Linked DNA regions of Homo sapiens: regions 1, 2, 4 and 5 are each linked to region 3. The links are contacts of gene promoters, found by promoter capture Hi-C in human tissues and cell types (Jung and others, 2019). All regions are on one chromosome and are shown on one strand. The core of a region is centred on a gene start or on the middle of the fragment in contact, and the rest is flanking DNA. Distances in the headings are between cores, read along the strand shown.

What was found. The method cuts DNA at HindIII sites, captures the fragments that hold promoters and counts their contacts. A contact is called where the count stands out against the background at its distance.
Region 1: the fragment with the promoter of DDX56 here is called in contact with the fragment with the promoter of POLD2 in region 3 in 3 of the 25 tissues and cell types used here (H1 embryonic stem cells, IMR-90 fibroblasts and heart left ventricle).
Region 2: a fragment that was not itself captured here is called in contact with the fragment with the promoter of POLD2 in region 3 in 1 of the 25 tissues and cell types used here (lymphoblastoid cells).
Region 4: a contact is called between a fragment that was not itself captured here and the fragment with the promoter of POLD2 in region 3, in 1 of the 25 tissues and cell types used here (stomach).
Region 5: a fragment that was not itself captured here is called in contact with the fragment with the promoter of POLD2 in region 3 in 2 of the 25 tissues and cell types used here (hippocampus and mesenchymal stem cells).

Annotation. Positions count from the first base shown.
Region 1 is chr7:44,572,466-44,575,165 of GRCh38, forward strand. DDX56 (DEAD-box helicase 56) reads right to left here and starts at 1,443. Exons shown (of 14, transcript NM_019082.4): 1 at 1,371-1,443; 2 at 1,118-1,279; 3 at 425-585; 4 at 109-279. The coding sequence starts at 1,430. RefSeq lists an enhancer at 1,060-1,209. The HindIII fragment of the contact is 7,915 bases long and covers 1-2,700 here.
Region 2 is chr7:44,457,324-44,460,023 of GRCh38, forward strand. All of the region lies in intron 2 of NUDCD3 (NudC domain containing 3), which reads right to left. Among named protein-coding and RNA genes, the nearest start is that of NUDCD3, 32 kb to the right of the region's middle. The HindIII fragment of the contact is 5,507 bases long and covers 1-2,700 here.
Region 3 is chr7:44,122,145-44,124,844 of GRCh38, forward strand. It overlaps POLD2 (DNA polymerase delta 2, accessory subunit), which reads right to left and starts at 1,404. Exons shown (of 11, transcript NM_006230.4): 1 at 1,367-1,404. RefSeq lists a silencer at 1,090-1,799 and enhancers at 1,586-2,490, 2,010-2,069. The HindIII fragment of the contact is 6,473 bases long and covers 1-2,700 here.
Region 4 is chr7:44,590,508-44,593,207 of GRCh38, forward strand. No RefSeq gene overlaps it. Among named protein-coding and RNA genes, the nearest start is that of TMED4, 9.6 kb to the left of the region's middle. The HindIII fragment of the contact is 6,428 bases long and covers 1-2,700 here.
Region 5 is chr7:44,493,780-44,496,479 of GRCh38, forward strand. No RefSeq gene overlaps it. Among named protein-coding and RNA genes, the nearest start is that of NUDCD3, 4.5 kb to the left of the region's middle. The HindIII fragment of the contact is 7,594 bases long and covers 1-2,700 here.

The DNA.
Region 1 (2,700 bases), core at 193-2,692, 450 kb after region 3:
AGCTCCAAGGGCCGCTAATTGTAGTAACTGGCTTCCAGCCACCCCGCTCTCGTCCCAACTCCTACTCACAGATGTTTCCACTAGGAATCACACCCACCTCTGCCTTACCAGAGGAGACTCTTGAGCTCTTCTTCAAAGCCAAAGGAAAAAAGAAGGTCAGCTTCGTCCACCACCAAAAGCTCCAGGGAGTCACGAAGTTTCAGGCTGTCTTGCTGCAAGTGGCTTAATATGCGAGATGGGGTCCCTACTACCACATCTGGCTTCTCCATCAGCACAGCTCTGGAGGTGGACAAGACATCAGTATCAGGCAGAATGTAGCAGCTGGGATCTCACCCTGGATTTGCTCTCTTTTTTGCCACACACAAACCCAACCCCACAACACTGTGTAGCTTCATTCAGGTACAGCTTTGCTGCTTTTACCCACCTCTGAGAGACTGAGTCTTCAGCAGCTGAGACATTGGCCACTCGGACATCCCGAGCACAGTAGGTAGCCAGCTGCTGAATCATGGACTGTGCTTGCCGTGCCAGCTCCTTGGTAGGAACAAGAACAAGGCCTCTCACTGCCTGTTCTACCACCGGACCTGTCTGTAAGAATATGAATTAAAGACTTTAGCCAGCAGTGCACATCACTGTGTCCACGTGTCTCTACCCCTTCCAGCCTACCTGACCCATCTGCTGCAACACTACTTAGCAGTACTTTGATCATCTATCACTCTGCCCGCCTCAGAATGCAGAGTGGAGAGTTCTTTCCCCAGGCACTGACCCTCAAAAAGAATAACGTACTCTGATGTTTATGAAGCTACTTTAAATATACTAGTTATGAAGCTAAATTCTCACAATAATTCTGTAAGTAGAAAAGATAGATGTGCTCCCTTTTTATGTAAGAAAGAAAAGAAAGTGCTTTGTCGAAGATTACGCAAAGGTTGGTGGTAGCAGGGCCGGACAAGGATCCAGGTAACCTGAACTCCAGCCCAGAGTGTTTGCCACAACAGCACCAGGTTCTCAGGCCGGCCTGCACGGGTACAGGGCCAAGAGAAAACCTCAGACAAACGGGAACCGCCCTTCCCAGGCTTTTGGAGCTTGCCTCCTTCCTCCCCTCAGCTCTCTCGTTACCCACCGCCTTCCTATGGAGCAACAGCTGCAGCATCGGAATAGCATAAGCGGCCGTCTTCCCGGAGCCCGTGCGGGCCCGAGCCAGGAGGTCCTTCCCTTCTAGGGCCAGTGGGATGGCCTTCTCCTGGATCAGCGTAGGTCGCGACCAGCCCAGATCGGTGACAGCCTAGGAGACCAGGAGTGCGGTTTAAGCGGCGTGAAGAGCGATGGCGCGCCCCGCAGAGCCCGTAAGCCGGCTCCCCAGCCCTCGCGTGTACCTGAAGGAGCCGGGGATCGAGGCCCATGTGTTCGAAGCCCAGTGCTTCAGAGTCCTCCATGGCGCTGCTCAGTAGCGCAGCACGCACGCGCTGCAGGAAAAACGCCACCGACGCGAGCGGGAGCAAAGCAACAACCAATCGGCTTCGGAGACGAAGTCACTTCCCGGAAGTGCTGGCGGCCTAGGCTTCCGGTACTCGGACGGAGCTCTGCGACTGCGCAGTCCCTAGGACTGGGTCTAGTAGGAGGCGGTGGAGCGGCCGTGCTGGGGTCGACGGGGTACTTTGGACTACAGAGCCGCTCCACTGGCTCTTCCGGCGTTCCCGGACGCCGCTGACGCACCTGATTCTCGCGACCTGCAGGAGAAGCCTCGGCCGGGGCGAGGGCCGAGGTCGTGACGGGCATGACCGTCTCTCTGCTTGGTTAGGGTTAGTGTCCCGCCGGGCACATCACCCTATGAATGGAGCCACTGAGATAGACTGGGCTGAGGAGAACCGGTTGGAATAATGAGCCATGGCAGCAACTGCCTGAGAGAGAGGACCGGCGGGTTGCTGTAGGGCTCCCTAACCGGACTGCCTGTCAGAAACCTGCACAGCTTGGTTTCTGTTCTTTGTGTCCCAAATCTGACTCGGGTCACCAGTTAAGACCCGTGTCAGACTTCTGACCTACAGACTTGCGTCGTTTTAAGCCAGTAAATTTGTGGTAATTTGTTACAGTAGCAATAGGAAAATAATACAGGTGAGGACTAAGAATCCTAATCACAAATCTTTTTTTTTTTTTGAGACATGGTCTGACTGTCACCCAGGCTGGCGCGATCTCAGGCTCAAGTGGTCCTCCCACCTCAGTCTCCTGGAAAGCTAAGACTACAGGCACGCACCACCACGTCCAGTTAGCGTGTATGTATGTATGTACGTACGTGTGTGTGTGTGTGTATGTGTATATATGTAACTCCTCCTCCCCTCCCCCCTCCCCTTCTCTTCTTTTCTTTCTAGATGGGGTTTCGCCACGTTGCCCAGGACGGTTTTGAACTCCTGGGGCCAAGCGATCTGCCTTCCTCGGCCTCCCAAAGTGCTGGGATTGCAGGTGCGAGCCACTGCTCCTGGCCCATAAGTCTTTCAGTGTAGAAGAGGGAAGCAGAAGAGGTCAAAGTGGTGCCATGTGAGAGCTCAACCCACCCTTGCTGGAGGAAGGGAGCCAGAGCCAAGCTGGAAAAGGCAAGGAAACAACCTTTGTGATTACATTAGGCCCATCCAGATGATCCAGGATAATTTATTTTACAGTCATCTGATTAGCAACTTAATTCTCTTCTGTCATGTTAGGTAACATATTCAT
Region 2 (2,700 bases), core at 70-2,569, 340 kb after region 3:
GAGTTAAGCAAGAAAATAAATAGTATCCAGATGAGAAGAAAAAAGTAAAATTATCTGTTTGCAAATGAAAAGATCTTGTATATAGAAAATCCTAAGGAATCCACTAAAAACTATGCATTAATAAACAAATTTAGCAAAGCTGCAGGTTACAAGATCACTATACAAAAATCTATTGTATTCCTATAAACTAGCAATGAACAATCTGAAAATGAAATTAAGAAATATTCCATCTACAATAGACTCAAAAAAGAATAAAATACTTAGGAATACATGTTTTAAACTACGAAACTAATGGGAAAACATATTTGTAAATTATATATGTAATACAGGACTTGTATGTAGACTACATAAAGATGGTTAAAGAGTTTGAATAGTTATTTCTCCAAAGATATACAAATAGCCAATAACGCACATGAAAAAATACACATTTTTAGTTACTAGAAAATGCACATGGAAACTACAATGAGATCCCACTTCATGCCCACTAGAATAGCCACAATCAAAAAAAATAGATAAGTTTTGGCAAGGATGTGAAGGAATTGGAATCCCCATAGATTGCTGGTGTACAATGGTGGAACTGCTTTGGAAAACAGCCTGGCACTTCCTCAAAAGGTTAAACATACAGTTTAACAGGACCCAGCATTTATACTCCTAGGTATATACCTAAGACAAATGAACATATATGTCTACACAAAAGCTTGTATACAAATGTTCATAGCACTATTCCTCATAATAGCAATCCAACTGTCCACCAACCGATGAATAAACAAAATGAAGTATGTCCATACAATAAAATATTATTCTGTCAGTAAAAGGAATGAAGTACTGATAAATGCTACAACATGGATGAATCCTGAAAACACTCCATTAAGTGAGAAAAGCCAGACACAAAGGCCACATAATGTATTATTCCATTTATATGAAATGTCAGAATTGGCAAATCTACAAAGGCAAAGTAGACTGGTAATTGCCTAGGGCTGGGAGGTTTGAGAGAAAATGAGGAGTGAATGCTAATGCATACAAAGTTCTTTTTCAGGTAATAAAAATGTTCTGGGGCCAGACATGGTGGCTCACACCTGTAAACTCAGCACTTTGGGAGGCTGAGGCAGGTGGATCACCTGAGGTCAGAAGTTTGTGACTAGCCTGACCAACATGGTGAAACCCCGTCTCTATTAAATACAAAAAATTAGCCAGGCATGGTGAGCATGCCTGTAATTCCAGCTACTTGGGAGGCTGAGGCAGGAGAATCACTTGAACCTGGGAGGCGGAGGTTGCAGTGAGCTGAGATTGTGAAATTGCACTCCAGCCTGCGCAACAAGAGCGAAACTCTGTCTCGGGGGAAAAAAAAAGTTCTGGAATTAGATAATAGTGGTAGTTATACAACCTTGTAAATATGTGAAAAGCACTGAATTGTACATGTTAAAGTACAAATTTTAAGATACGTGAACTATATCTCAAGTTTTTAAAACCGTACATGTGTCTGGTATGGTGTGCCATGTGCACTTGGTGTGATGTGTGTGCATGCATACAAGCATGTGTATGAGCCTGGAGAAAGGTGTGCAAGGACACATCTCAGTATACTGACACTGGCTGCAGGATTAGACGGGGAGTGCTGTGTGTGTGTGTGTGTGTGTGTGTGTGTGTGTGTGTGTGTGTGGTGATGTGTATGCATACATACAAGCATGTGTATGAGCCTGGAGAAAGGTGTGCAAGGACATCTCACAGTATATTGACAATGGCTGCAGGATTATAAAGAAGAAATTCCTTTCAACAATGTTGTGTTGTTTTGGGAGTATTATTAGTTTTGGAGTTTTAAAAATTTATTCCTAAGTATTTTTTTATATATATTCTATTGTAGATGGATTTTTCTTAATTTTTTCTTTTTTTTTTTTTTGAGACAGGGCCTCACTTGGTTGCCCAGGCTGAGTGCAGTGGCACGATCATGGCCCACTGTAGCCTTGACCTACAGGGCTCAAGCAATTCTCCCATCTCGGCCCCCTGAATAGCTGGGACTATAGGCATGCACCACCATGCCTGGCTAATTTTTCAAGACGGGATCTCACTATGTTGCCCAGGCTGGTCTGGAACTCCTGGGCTCATGCAATCCTTCTGCCTCGGCCTCTTGAAGTGTTGGGATTACAGGAATAAGCCACCATGCCTAGACCTGTGGTCATGTATTTTCTAATATTATAATTGTCTAATAAAGAACTAGCAAATATAATTGTTTTAATCAGAAGAAAATTGAACAAGGTAATAATAGTGATAGAACTGGATAATTCTATTTTCCAAATTTTCCAAATTACTTTTGTAATTAATTAAACAACTGCTTTCCTAACTGTCACACATCTATAACATATGGTGGAGAAGAAGATACCATTGCTAAAAGCAACACAAACATTAACTGTATGGCTACTAATGGATCTGAGGACACATGAGATTTGTATATAATTCTTGAGGGCAACTTTCTGTAACTGAATTTAATGACAGAAAAAAGGAAGCCACCAACAATAGAATGATATGCTTCCTTTTAACAGGAAAATTTAACGAGAACAAAACTGATCATACTCTTCAAGTTAATATGGAGTTTTAACATAATATCAATTAAAGTCCCCAAGTGGTATAATACAAAACTTGATCAAGTCACAGTGGAATTCATTTTAAAGAAATCAAACAATATTAAAGAACAGTCTTGAGCCCTTT
Region 3 (2,700 bases), core at 154-2,653:
CCATCCCCCAAAGCAGCAGCTCTCCTGGTGTCTCACTGCACCCAAAGGATACTGGGAAAAGAAGGAGAACAGCTGTAGTTGACACCAGACATTGTGTCCACTTGGAAATTTATCGTGCCTGGATACCGATGTCTCACCCTGTAGCGGTCATCCAAAAAGAGAAAAGGAAAGCTAGGAGTGTTTGTCCCATCTGGAGTTCTTCCCGAACCCTAGACTCAGGTGTCCTGTTCCATCTGGACAACTACCAGGGTCTCAATCAAGTTCAGTTTGCCCCAAATGGAATTCCCGATCTGCCTCCATCCAGCTCTCCGGCACCTGTCTCATTTCCAGACAAGAGGTCTGCCTTATTAAATAAAACTTCTGTGAAATAATAAGCCTATTATTAAATAATAATAGAACTAAACCAAAACCAAAACATAAATCAGTCACTGCTCTGTTCAAAACTCTCCAAAGTGTCCTCATTTCATTGAATAAGGCCCCAAGTCCTTACAACTGCCTATGAGATCTGCTCCACTGGTCCTCTCCCCTCCTGGTTCCCACTCCTCCACCTTGGATCCCTCCCCACAGCAAGGGGCCTCTGAACTCTTGCTTGCCCCTCTCCCGTATACTTATAGAGCTCACTTGCCCATCTCCTTCAAGTTCTTACATCTTTACTCAAATGTTACCTTGTGCCCTGCCCATCTGATTTACAACTGCAACTCTCCCCAGTACTTCAACTGTTATTGTTGTTTACAACATTTACCTTCTAACAAACTGTATATTTTAAATGTATTGTCTGCCTGCTCCAACTAGACCATAAGCTCCAGGAGAGCTGAGATTTTTGTGTCTTATGCCACTAGCCACCTAGGGCTACGAAGTACAGGAGATGTGGTGAGTCCAACTGTGATGTTTGGGTTGGACACACAATGGATTTCTAAGAATAGTACAAAGAATATCCCAATAATTTTTTCACATACAATTGAAATAATAGTTTGAATATATTTATGGATTTACTCCAATTGATTTGTTTCGTTTTACTTTTTTCGTACACCTACTAGAAAGTTAAAAAATTCCCTAGCGGCTTGCAATCTATCTCCACGGGACAGCACTGGCCTGGGACACAGGCTCCGCACACGTGTCTAACGAGTGACTCGTTAGGAGCTTTTGGCTCGAACGTGCTTGATGGCGGCAGCAGCCAGGCCGCGCTACTCGGGATGGGGCCGAGAGCGCCCTGGGGGCTGTCCCAGTCACGGCGGGTGCCCCGGCTCGGATCCACGCGGCAGCTGCGGGACGTCCGCCAAGACACCAGCCCACCGACCCAGGAGCCCGGCCTCGCGGCCTGGAACTGCCACCCCCAGCTGACCCCGTTTCCCTGGACCCCACTCACCGCGCGGCGCGCCGCATCCCGCCAATCCCCGCGCGCCTGCCCCGCCCATCGCCGCAACTCGCTAATCCCCGCGCGGCTTCCCCGCCCATCGCCTAATCTCACCAATCGCTGCCCTCCTCGCCCCGTCCGTCACCAGGCGCCTCATCCCGCCGACCACTGTGCGCCCAGTCCCTGGGACGCCCAGAGAACGCGGAGCCACACCCTCGGTTTCCTGGGCAACGCGGGGCGGGGGCTCGCAGGCCGGCGCCGCGGGTCTTTGGTTGGCGGCCGCGCGTGCAGGGGTTGGGCTGACGGGGGGTGTCGGCCTCCAGTGGGCTGACCGCGTCACCCCGTCAGGCCCTGCCCAAACCTCCCAGTGGTCGTCACCCCGCCAGACCTCCCAGTGGTCGGCCGCCAGCCTCCTTGGTGAAGCCCCCAGCGTCCCAGCTTTCCCCGCAGAGCTGCCCACTTGTAGCGATGGCGACACGCGAGGAGGATCCCAACAGAAAGAAGGCCCAAGGCCCACTAACTTGGCCGGGGAGAAGTAACTCTTCCTGAAGGGATGGCGCGGGGTCTCGGGGTTCCTCCCGTCCTGCCAGCGTCTGCGTCCGGGAAACGCATTGGCGGTTTCGGGGTCCTCCCTAGCTTGCCCACAGCTGCACACCAGCTTCCAGCCCAACACTCCCCAATCTCCAGTGTCCTCGTTGTCCCCGTTACTCATACTCGTTCTTACCACCACGTCTTTCTGAGTGCTGTCTCCCACTTTGGGAATACTTTTTTTTTTTTTTTTCCATCTCCACTAATTTATAGAATTCCTCACCCCATCAAGAGACGCTTCCCCACTAAGCTTCCCGGGCTCTTCCCGCCGCGCGCTGATTCTCCCAGGCGTCCTCTAGCGCTACTGTTCTGCTACTTCCCTGGGCCTGTTTCCTAAGTCCAGGTCTTGTCTCCACAACGAGTGGATATTAACACTCGTTAATTATTACTTAATATTTTAATTTTTGTTTTTGTTTGTTTGTTTGAGGCAGCGTCTTGCTCTGTGGCCCAGGCTGGAGTGCAGTGGTGCGATCTCGGCTCACTGCAGCCTCGAACTCCCAGGCTCCAGTGATTCTCCCGCCTCAGCCTCCCGAGTAGCTGGGACAACAGGCGCGCAGCACCACGCCTGGCTACTTTAAGTTTGTGTGTGTGTGTGTGTGTGTGCGTGTGTGTGTAGAGACAGGGTCTCCCAATGGTGCCCAGGCTAGTGTGGAACTCCTGGGCTCAAGTGATCCTCCCACCTCAGCCTCCCAAAGTGCTGGGATTACAGGCATGAGCCACCACGCCCAGCCTTATATTTTAATTTAAAATGTGATATT
Region 4 (2,700 bases), core at 125-2,624, 470 kb after region 3:
AGAGAAGATAAAGAAAGTGGGGGAAATGTACTAGTTTAAAAGAGACCAAGGCTGGGCGCAGTGGCTCACACCTATAATTCCAGCACTTTGGGAGGCCCAGGTGGGTGGATCGCTTGAGCCCAGAAGTTCAAGACCAACCTGGGCAACATGGCTAAATCCCACCTCTACAAAAAATACAAAAGTTAAGCCAGGAGTGGTGTTGTGTGACTATAGTCCCAGCTACTCAAGAAGCTGAGGTGGGAGGATTGCTTGAGTCCAAGAGGTGGAGGTTGCAGTGAACCCAAATCGCGCCATTGCACCCAGCCAGGGTGACAGAGTGAGACCCTATCTCAAAAAAATAAATAAAAAGATGCATAATACCAAAAAAGACGTGAACCTTGATTGGGCTTTGGTGTGTTACTGTCTGCAAAGACCACTGCTGACAATTCCTCCAATCCCTATAAACACATACTGTTCCTCCCATTGAGGGGTGGAGTCTATTTTCCCTCAACTTGAATTTGAACTGGCCCTGTGGTTTGTTCTGACCAATTCAATGCAGTGGAAGAGAAGCTATATGACTTCTGGGGCTTAGGCCATAAGAGACCTTGCAGCTTCCATTTTCATTCCCTTGGAACCCAGCTGACAGGAGGTCCAGCCCACCCAATTGGACCAGTCATTGGAATGAAGCCATCTTGGATCCTGCAGTCCCAGTGGAGCTGCCCCAGCCAATACCAAATGGAACGCTGATGAGCTATCCCTACTGAAACCACACAATGCAGTTATGCAACTGGAAAAAGTCAGGAAGCTCTCTATGAACTGAAAAGCTTTATACGAATAGAAAGATTTCCAGGATATACTGTTCAATTTGTTTTCCTTTCTTTTTTTTTTTTTTTTTTTTGAGACGGAGTCTTGCTCTGTCACCCAGGCTGGAGTGCAGTGGCGCAATCTCGGCTCACTGCAAGCTCCGCCTCCCAGGTTTGCACCATTCTCCTGCCTCAAACTCCCGAGTAGCTGGGACTACAGGCACCTGCCACCGCGACCGGCTAGTTTTTTGTATTTTTAGTAGAGACGGGGTTTCACCGTGTTAGCCAGGATGGTCTCGACTCCTGACCTTGTGATCCGCCCGCCTCGGCCTCCCAAAGTGCTGGGATTACAGGTGTGAGCCACCGCGCCCAGCCTTTTTTTTTTTTTTTTTTTTTTTTTGAGACAGAGTCTCACTCTGCAGCCCAGGCCCGAGTACAGTGGCGCCATCTCAGCTCACTGCAACTTCTGCCTCCTGGGTTCAACTGATTCTCATGCCTCAACCTCCCAAGTAGCTGGGATTACAGGTGTGCACCATCACACCTGGCTAATTTTTGTATTTTTAGTAGACATGGGGTTTTACCATGTTGGCCAGGCTGGTCTCGAACTCCCAACCTCAGGTGATCACCCACCTTGGCCTCCCAAAGTGCTGGGATTACAAGTGTGAGCCACTGCACCTGGCCATCAATTTGAAAAGCAGATGCGGAAGAGAATACATAGTAAACTCTCTTTGGTATTTGTACCTTCATGAAAAAACACTGGAAGAATATTTAAGAAACTAATGTAAGTGGTTATAGGTAACCTAAGATTTAGCTCATATACACCAGTAGGGTTATACTGGTTAAAATATAGAAATATTCTTGTCCTGGTCGGTAAATGGCCACTACCAAACCCCTGAATTCCCTCCACCTCTGCTCTCACCCCAGGATAAATGACTGCCCCATGATCCAACAAGAGTTAACCCCAGCAGGGAAGGGGTCTGGCAAGCCAACAAAGAATGAGGTGGATGGTCATGGGGTAGGAGACTTTACAAACAAAACTTTTAAATATACTTTTTATTTCTGAGCCATATGAATATGTCACTTGGTAAAAAGGAATTTGAGGCGAGGTATAGTGACCTATGCCTATAACCCCAGCACTTTGGGAGGCTGAGGCAGGAGAATGCTTGAAGCCAGGAGTTTGAGGCTGTAATGAGCTATGATCATGCCACTGCACTCCAACCTGGATGACAAAGTGAGACCCTGTCTCTAAAAAAATAAATAAATAAAAAATTAAAAATCAAAGTCAAAAGGAGTTTGAGAGTAAAAAACAGAAAATAATGTGTTATTTATTTAATAAAATAAAAATTAAAAATTAAATGCTAGAGACCAGGCGCAGTGCCTCATGCCTGTGATCCCAGCACTTTGGGAGGCCGAGGAAGGTGGATCACCTGAGCTCAAGAGTTTGAGACCAGCCTGGGCAACATGGTGAAACCCTGTCTCTACCAAAAATACAAAACTTACCTGTGTATGGTAGCACATGCCTGTGGTCCCAGCTACTCAGGAGGCTGAAATGGGAGGATGGTTTGAGCCTGGGAGGCAGAGGCTGCAGTTAGCCGAGATCACACCGCTGTACTCCAGACTGGGTGACAGAATGAGACCCTGTCTCAAAAATTAAGAAAGAGGCTGGGCGCGGTATCTCACACCTGTAATCCCAGCACTTTGGGAGGCCCAGGTGGGCAGATCACCTGAGGTGAGGAGTTCAAGACCAGCCTGCCCAACATGGCGAAACCTCATCTCTACTAAAAATTCAAAAAATTAGCCAGGTGTGGTGGCAGGAGCCTGTAATCCAAGCTACTCAGGAGACTGAGGCAGGAGAATTGCTTGAACCCAGGAGGTGCAGGTTGCAGTGAGCAGAGATCATGCCACTGCACTCCAGCCT
Region 5 (2,700 bases), core at 97-2,596, 370 kb after region 3:
ACACCTTGGTCTTGGATTTCTGGCCTCCAAGACTGTGAGAGAATAAACATGTGTTGTTTAAGCCACCCAGTCTATGGTACTTTGTGACAGCAGGAAGCTAGGACAATGGCCTGCCTTGATTCCTGCTGAGACACTTGCAGTTTTACCTGCCATTGCTTTTGCACCATCATTGCAAATGTCAACATGGTAAAAAAGCAAATAACATCATAGTATTGTTATTTTTACCTTGGAGGCCCCCCAGGGCCACATACTACACTCTGAGAATCACTGCCCTAGAGAATTAATGAATCTCGGGTGAGCCTGTTATATAATTCCTCAGTATAACTGGAAGCACATGCAGTCATCTTCTTGCTATATTCAAAGTTTTGAATAATTTTCTTTAGCACCTAAAGGAAGAAATGGAACAGACGCTGCATCTGGAGAAGGGAAATTGAGGGAAACACTATAAAACAGGAGAAAAACTTACTTTTGTATTTGATACCATATACATGCATTACCTATTCAAAAAGTAAATAAAATATCTTTTTTTTTTTTTTGAAACAGAGTCTCGCTCTGTCGCCCAGGCTGGGGTGTAGTGGCACAGTCTCAGCTCGGCTCACTGCAAGCTCCGCCTCCTGGGTTCACGCCATTCTCCCGCCTCAGCCTCCCGAGTAGCTGGGACTACAGGTGCCCGCCACCACACCCGGCTAATTTTTTGAATTTTTAGTAGAGACGGGGTTTCACCATTCACAGGATGGTCTCGATCTCCTGACCTTGTGATCCACCCGCCTCAGCCTCCCAAAGTGCTGGGATTACAGGCGTGAGCCACCGTGCCCGGCCAAAATATCTTTTAAATTGAATGGAAAGCTAAACATAATGTCATAACACAGTCCAGCAATCATGCTCTTATGTATTTACCCAGCTTATTTGAAAACTATGTCCATACAGAAATCTACATGCAAATGTTTATTGCAGCTTTACTCAAAATTGCCAAAAATGGGAAGCAACCAGGTGCCGTCAACAGGTACTGGATAAACGAAAGGTAGTACATTCATAGAATGAAGTACTGTTTTCAGCAGTAAGAAGGAATAAGCTGTCAATCAATAAAAAGATATGGCTTAATCTTAAATGCGTATTGCTAAGAGATAGAAACCACTCAAAAAATGCTACCACCCAATTATATGACATTCTGAAAAATGCAAAATGTAGAAACAGTAAAAGATCAGTGGTTGTCAGGGTCTGCGTGTGAAAAAAAGGTTGAATGATGCACAGGGAATTTTTTAGGATGTAAAATTATTCTATATGATAGTAATTACTATCATAGAATAATGATAGTAATAATTATTAATAGTAATAATTATTAATAGTAATTATTAGTAATAATAGCAATAATTAGTAATTAGTAATTAATAGTAATAATTAGTAATTAATAGTAATAATTATTAATAATAATAATTAGTAGTAATAATGATAGATACGTGACACTACACATTTGTCAAAACCCATAGAAATTTATAGCACCAAGAGTAAACCTTAATATAGGCAGTCTTTTAAAAAATCACTTAGGAGATTGGGGGATCCCAGAATGGGTTGCAGAATGTGACAAAACAATCTAACTGTGTCACAGATGTATGAAACAACCTCACTGAAGGGATGATAGAAAGAGATGCTGTCCTAAGTAACTTTGGAAATGAGCAGAGTCTGTAAGACTAAAGACAAAAGGAACTGTATATAAACACTGAAATCTAGTTGATACAATTATTCCTAACAGGGGTATGGGTTATCAATTCTGAAACCGCTAGATATGTATAGTGGAAATGAGCAATTAAGTAAATGGTGGAGGGTGGTGGGATCCAGGTTTCTCACTGGTGGAGTGAGAGAGTTATAAATAAGCGGGGAAGGAGGCTAGAATGATCCATGTGGTAATAGATCAGAGTTAGAAATTCATCCTTATAGATACAGATGGCTATGTGTAGAACTGTTTACAGAAATGTGTATATATGCAGGTGAGTGTACATACATGTATTTACTTGCTCTCAGCTGAGAAGGTCTAGAAGCAACAATGCTTCAGTAACAACGAGCATACCTTCCACCCAGATCTTGGTTTCTGATATTCTCCAATAGAAGGAACCAGGGCTTCTTGGAGAAATGGCTGATTCTAGGACTGGCACAGAAAATATACAAGATGCGCCTGGAGCATCTTGTGGGTGGTGTCTCAAAGTAAAGGAAGTGCAAAGAAAAAAAAAACCACACAATGATGGGGGTATGACAAAGGAAAGCGCTTCCAATGGCCAAAGCTGGAACAATTTGAGCAGCAAAATAAGGTATTATTATATTAGAACCCAAAATATAAAACAAATACCTGTGAGTCCATACCGATATACATATAAATATATTGATATATACATACCTATATGATATATAGAGATATTTCTCATACTGAATAAAGAAATGGAAGAAAATAGACACATTTTCTGTTCAGAAGAATTCCCAGTTATTTATGTAGCTAGTCTGCCCTCAAGGAGGTGGAGCATGACTCCCTACTTCTTATGTCTAGGATACATGTAGTGACTCTTCCTAATGGTAGAGCGTGGAAAGGGGAGAAACCTGACGAGGATGACCTCAGCCAGGTGATCGAGGTCAACATCAACAATGATAAGTCATGTTTGATAGTATACACCTTTAATATGCTATGAATGACACCTTACCTCTGTGGTCTTC